Linked DNA regions of Homo sapiens: region 1 is linked to region 2. The links are contacts of gene promoters, found by promoter capture Hi-C in human tissues and cell types (Jung and others, 2019). All regions are on one chromosome and are shown on one strand. Each heading gives the region's core, a stretch centred on a gene start or on the middle of the fragment in contact. The rest is flanking DNA. Distances are from core to core; before and after follow the strand shown. Region 1 holds the start of LOC105372244 (a long non-coding RNA gene). Region 2 holds the start of CREB3L3 (cAMP responsive element binding protein 3 like 3).

What was found. Contacts are between HindIII fragments. The study calls those that stand out against the background at their distance.
Region 1: a fragment that was not itself captured here is called in contact with the fragment with the promoter of CREB3L3 in region 2 in 2 of the 25 tissues and cell types used here (aorta and spleen).

The regions. Positions count from the first base shown.
Region 1 is chr19:3,305,297-3,308,438 of GRCh38, forward strand. It overlaps LOC105372244 (a long non-coding RNA gene), which reads right to left and starts at 1,606. Exons shown (of 3, transcript NR_187753.1): 1 at 1,553-1,606. The HindIII fragment of the contact is 7,399 bases long and covers 1-3,142 here.
Region 2 is chr19:4,151,500-4,155,050 of GRCh38, forward strand. CREB3L3 (cAMP responsive element binding protein 3 like 3) reads left to right here and starts at 2,132. Exons shown (of 10, transcript NM_032607.3): 1 at 2,132-2,275; 2 at 3,400-3,528. The coding sequence starts at 2,249. The HindIII fragment of the contact is 37,156 bases long and covers 1-3,551 here.

The DNA of each region.
Region 1 (3,142 bases), core at 481-2,980, 850 kb before region 2:
CTGAATGTGGTTTGGCTGCCAGGCCTTTGCACGTGCGGTTTCCCTAGCCTGGAACACTCTGTTCCCACCCTGGAGGTCGGAGATGCTGGGTTGGGATGGAGACACCCGTGACCTGCTAGGCCCAGGGCATGGCGTTAGCAAAGGTGGGGGTAGAAGTAGGAATTACTGGCCGGGCGCGGTGGCTCACGCCTGTAATCCCAGCACTTCGGGAGGCCGAGGTGAGTGGATCACCTGAGGACGGGAGTTCGAGACTAGCCAGACCAACATGGAGAAACCCCGTCTCTACTGAAAATACAAAATTAGTCGGGTGTGGTGGTGCATGCCTGTAATCCCAGCTACTAAGGAGGCTGAGGCCGGAGAATCGCTTGAACCTGGGAGGCGGAGGTTGCGGTGAGCCGAGATTGCGCCACTGCACTCCAGCCTGGGCGACAAGAGTGAAACGCCGTCTAAAAAAAAAAAAAAAAAAAAAAAAAAAAAGTAGGAATTACCTAGGTCCGAGTTAGAAAACAGAGAGCCCCTCAACTGTGGCCTCGAAACCACACAGAGGACTGAAGCAGGATGTGTGGGGGTAAAACTGAGGGCCAAATAGGAGCTGAGTCCCGACCAAGGGAGCTGGAGTTCCTCACCTCTGGGTCCTCAATATTTGCTGATTGACTTAAGACATGCATGCCCTTAAGCCTTGCATTCTCTCTCCAAGCTTCAGTTTCCTCATCTGTAAGACGGGGCTCATGAGATATATATATATATATGTGTGTGTGTGTGTGTGTGTGTATATATATATATACACATACATATGTGTGTATATACATATAATGTATATGTGTGTATATATGTATATATACGTGTGTATGTGTGTGTGTGTGTGTATACACATAATTTTTGGTTGGTTGTTTGAGACGGAGTCTCACTCTGTCACCCAGGCTGGAGTGCAGTGGCGCGATCTCAGTTCACTGCAACCTCCGCCTCCCAGGTTCAAGAGATTCTGCTGCCTCAGCCTCCCGAGTAGCTGGGATTACAGGTGCGCGCCACCACACCCGGCTAATTTTTGTATTTTTAATAGAGACAGGGTTTCACCATATTGGTCAGGCTGGTCTCGAATCCCTGACCTCTTGATCCGCCCGCCTCGGCCTTCCTGATCCAACCGCCTCGGCCTCCCAAAGTGCTGGGATTACAGGCGTGAGCCACCACGCCCGGCCTGGGCTCAGGTTATTATGCAAACATCCAGAACTGGGCAGATCAAGATGAATGATACCAATGATACTATCACATTATAGGCAAAATAGGACCTTCTCCCCGGTCAGAAAAGTGAACTCTCAGGCATCACTCCTACTGGAATCCAGAGTCAATAAACATTTATGAAGCACCTACTGGGTACTAGGAGCTGTTGTAGAAAGGTACTGGGGAGAAGGCAGGGAACGAAATGTACAAAAATTCTGACCACGTCCATAGTCCCTGGCCCCGCCCCACTACTTGCCCCAACCCTCACAGGAACAGTTTCCAGCCCCGCCCCCAGCCCCGCCTCCTCTCCACCCCCTCACTTTTCTGAACCTACCAGAGCGAGGTGAAGGGTGAGAGTAATCTACATATTCATGAGGGATCAGCCAATCCACAGCCTGAACTCGGATTTGTCTTCAGAGCCTAGCTGATTGTGACGTCAAGAGTGATGCATTACGTAGCCGGGCGCCGTGGCTCATGCCTGTAATCCCAGCACTTTGGGAAGCCGCGGAGGGCAGATCACCCGAGGTCAGGAGTTCAAGATCAGCCTGGCCAATATGGTGAAACCCCGTCTCTACTAAAAATACAAAAATTAGCCGGGTGTGGTGGCGAGTGCCTGTAATCCCAACTACTCAGGAGGCTGAGGCAGGAGGATCGCTTGAATCCAGAAGGCGGAGGTGGCAGTGAGTGGAGATCGTGCCACTGCACTCCAGCCTGGGCCACAGAGCCAGACTCCGTCTCAAAAAAAATAATAATAATAATAAAGTGATGCATTGCGTGATTTTTAAAGGTGCAGCAACCTCTCATGGTCTCAGTTTGCATATCCGTAAAGTACAGGTTGGGGCGTGCGGGACATAGAAACCAGCGCAGTACGATGACGCTGAAATCGCTTTGCCACCTTGGGTGAAATTCAGGGATACGTTTTGAGCGTTCACTACATGTCAGACACTTTACTCCAGCGGGGGCTCCGGAGTTCCTGCTTAGAATGGGAGCTTCAGCACCGGGGGTCGCGGACAGCTCCCGGCTCTGGTCGCAGGGGCTCCCATGCAGGATGACTGGGGACAAGGGTCTGAGCTTTCTCTGCCTGTCTGTCCTCCATCAAAGCCTCAAATGAACTCAGCCCTAATCTCTGACAGCTAAGGGGTTGCTAGTCAGGACAACACTCTGTCCTTGGTCCCCAATCCTGCTCCTCCCTCGTCGTCTGCATCTCAGCTGATGGCAGTTCCATTCTTTTTTTTTTTTTTTTTGAGACGGAGTCTCGCTCTGTCGCCCAGGCTAGAGTGCAGTGGCGCGATCTCGGCTCACTGCAAGCTCCGCCTCCCGGGTTCACACCATTCTCCTGCCTCAGCCTCCCGAGTAGCTGGGACTACAGGTGCCTGCCACCACGCCTGGCTAATTTTTTGTATTTTTAGTAGAGACGGGGTTTCACCGTGTTAGCCAGGATGGTCTCGATCTCCTGACCTCGTGATCCGCCTGCCTCGGCCGCCCAAAGTGCTGGGATTATAGGCGTGAGCCACCGCGCCCGGCCCGGCAGTTCCATTCTTCCGGGTGCTGGAGCCGAATATCAACGCTATCCTGGATCTTTTGTTTCTTGCTCAACTCCAATCTATCAGCAGGTCCTGTCGCCCCTGCCCTCACTATTCCATCCTCAAACGCTCACTTCTTCCTGTTCCTCTGCCTGGGTCCAGCCCCATCGTTGCCCACCTGGACCTGGCGCAGTTGCCTCTGCCTTGGTCCTAGGCTCCACCCTCTGCCACACAGTCTGTCCTCCCTGCAGCAGCCACCAGAGGGGGGCTGTGAGCACCCGAGTTAGGGCCTGTCCCTCCTCTGCCTACAGCACTCCAAGGCTCCCACCTTCCTCTGGGTCAAAGCCTCCCTGTGACCTATAAGGCTGGCAAGACCTTCCCTGTGTTAGCCAGGATGGTCT
Region 2 (3,551 bases), core at 882-3,381:
GAACCAGGATGTGAATTTTTTTAGAGCAAGGAGGGCACATAAATTACCCCTCTCAACCTAGCACATGGCACAGTGTCCAGCAAACAGAAAGCTTGATTTAGTCTCCTATTTGCTAAACTTCCAACAGTGCCCTGCTGTTTAGCACAAACCAAACTCCTTGCCACAACACACAGGGCTTTGCACGACCTGCCCCGTCCCCTCCCTGCCTTCCCCTCCTCCCTGCCTTCCCCTCCTCCCTGTCTTCCTCTCCTGCCTGTCTTCCTCTCCTCACTCTGCTCCAGCCACAGGGGTCTCATTGCTGTTCCTCCAATGCGCTAGGCACGGACCTGCCTCAGGGCCTTTGCACAAACTGTGCCTCTGCCTGGGACACCTTTCCCCAGACCTTCCCAGGGCCAGTTCCATCTCATCCTTCAGGACTGCACTGAACATGTCATTTTTTTTTTTTTTGAGACAGAGTCTCACTGTCGCCCAGGTTGGAGTGCAGTGGTGTGATCTCAGCTCACTGCAACCTCCGCCTCCTGGGTTCAAGTGATTCTCCTGCTTCGGCCTCCCGAGTACTGGTATTGCAGGCATGTGCTACCACACCCATCTAATTTTTATATTTTTAGTACAGATGGGGTTTCACCATGTTGGCCAGGTTGGTCTCAAACTCTTGACCTCAGGTGATCCACCCACCTCGGCCTCCCAAAGTGCTGGCATTACAGATGTGAGCCACCACGCTTGGTCTAATATGTCATCTGCTAAAGGGGGACTTTGCCTGGGCACAGTGGCTCATGCCTGTAAATCCAGCACTTTGGGAGGCTGAAGCAGGTGGATCATTTGAGCCCAGGAGTTTGAGACCATACTGGCCAACACAGTAAGACCCCATCTCTATAAAAAAAAAAAAACAAAATTAGCCAGGTGTGGTGGTGCACGCCTGCAGTCCTAGCTACTTGGGAGGCTGAGACGGGAGGATCACTTGAACCCAGGAGTTGGAGGCTGCAGTGAGCTATGATCCTGCCACTGCACTCCAGCCTGGGCAATAGAGTGAGACCCTGTCCTCCACCAACACCAAAAAAAAAAACAAAAAAACAAAACAGGGCTCCTCTCTCTTGGTAGGGGGTGGAGGGGAGGTCAGAGACACCTCTCAGCCACCCGGGCTGATTCACAAATATCGAACATTCACTAAAATGTCAATACAGTGACCTAGAGCCAGAGGGGAAGAGGGAGGGTACAAGAGGAGAGTTCCAGGCAGAGGGGCGAGCAGGTGAGTAGGTGCAAAGGCCCTAAGCAGGAACCAGTTTGGCTCCATAAATATTTGTTGACTCAATGAACGATAGAAGATTCTAGAGAGAATTGATTGCACAGAATCACCCATGGGGACTCAGAGGCGGAGTCCAAGCTGGTTTCGGAGGGGGCTGGGGGCCGGAGGTTGGCAGGTGGGGTGAAGGATGGGAGCCGCTAGCTGCTGGCAGGAAAACTGGCTTCAGTGAAGATCTGGTCTGGTCCTCTTGGTTTGTTTCTGTCCAGGGAGTGGACAGGACCCATGTAAGGGCCCTGGGCTATCCCAGAACCCATCTGGGAATTCTGAAGAGAAAAAGTCCTGTAACTGGCCGGGTGCGGTGGCTCACGCCTGTAATCCCCGCACTTTGGGAGACTGAGGGGCCGATCACGAGGTCAGGAGTTCGAGACCAGCCTGGAAAACATGATGAAACCTCGTCTCTACTAAAAATACAAAAGTTAGCCGGGCATGGTGATGGGGACCTGTAGTCCCAGCTACTCGGGAGGCTGAGGCAGGAGAATCACTTGAACCCAAGAGGCAGAGGTTGCAGTGAGCCGAAATGAGATGGCACCACTGCACTCCAGCTTGGGCCACAGAGCGAGACTCCGTCTCAAAAAAGAAAGAAAAAAAGAAAAAGTCCTCATAAGTAGGGCAGAGGTCACGGCAGAGTGGAGGTACCCCAGACTTCGACCTTTGCTCACTGAGGGCTGGAAAACCACAAAACACCCAGATAACGGTCTTCCCTCCCCTGCTCCTGCCTGCCCCAGTGTCACTGGCCCTCAACCCTGTCTCTCCACCCTGTCCACCAATCAGCACCTGGAGGTGGGCTGGGAGCTGCCTGTGACCGCTTCAGCATCTTTTGGGAGTGGTGACAGAGCCACAGAGGGCTGTGAGCTTGCCCGGCCCCAGGTAACGCTGGCGGTGGGTGGGCCTCCAGCTTGGAGCAGAGACCCCCCGAGGCATCTGCAGACAGAACTGGATGGACCCATGAATACGGATTTAGCTGCTGGAAAGGTGAGCCCTACTAGGTCCCCAGGGAGAGCGGGAGTCTAGGCTGGGAAAGCCTACCCAAGCTGCCAGAGCTGGAAGGACCCCATCTCCACCCCTATTGTACAGATGGGAAGACTGAGGCCCAGAGAAAGGATGCAATGAGCAAAACTGTGTGCCTTTGCCCCGGGGCTGCCCTTGTCTTTCTTCCAGGTCCCCCTGCCTCCTAGGAGCGGGCACTTGGGGAGGCTGTGAAGGCCTGAGAGGCAAGCGGCATCTCTAGCTAGGGCCTCTCTCCAGCACTTTTTATTTTATTTTATTTTATTTTTATTTTTATTTTTTGAGATGGAGTCTCCCTCTGTCACCCAGGCTAGAGTGCAATGGCACGATCTCAGCTCACTGCAACTTCCACCTCCTGGGTTCAAGAGATCTTCCTGCCTCAGCCTCCCAAGTAGTTGGGATTACAGGTGTGCACCACCACGCCCGGCTAATTTTTGTACTTTTCCTAGAGACAGGGTTTCACCATGTTGGCTAGGCTGGTCTCAAACTCCTGACTTCAGGTGAGCTGCCCGCCTCGGCTTCCCAGAGTGCTGGGATTACAGATGTGAGCCACCGTGCCTGCCATACTTTTTTGTTTTTTGAAACAAGGTCTTGCTCTGTGACCCAGGGTGGAGTGCAGTGGGGTGGCCATAGCTCACTGCAGCCTCAACCTCCTGGGTTCAAGGGATCCTCCTACCTCAGCCTCCCCAGTAGCTGGGACGACAAGTGTGTGCCACCGCAGCCAGCTAATTTTTTTAAATTATTTGCAGTAGGGATAGGGGTCTCTATGTTGCGCAGGCTGGTCTTGAACTCCTGGGCTCAAGTGATCCTCCTGCCCCGGCCTCCCAAAGTGCTGAGATTACAGGCATGAGCCACCACATCCAGCCTCTCCAGCACTTTAAGAGAAATTGGCTCTCACACTGTGGAATTCTCTCTATCAGCCTCAAAGTCCAGATTTGGAAAGGGAGTCTCAGCGAGGGGCAGCAGCTGGCCCAACCCGGAGGCAGAGCGGCAACTGAACTCTAGCCGGAAAGAGCCAGGGTTATGTGCACATGGGAGGTGGGGAGGACAGGGGCTGTATGTGACCCTCACATCTGTTCCTCGCGCCCCAGATGGCTTCTGCTGCCTGCTCCATGGACCCCATCGACAGCTTTGAGCTCCTGGATCTCCTGTTTGACCGGCAGGACGGCATCCTGAGACACGTGGAGCTGGGCGAGGGCTGGGGTCACGTCAAGGACCAGGTGAGGAGTCCACTGCAGTTGCC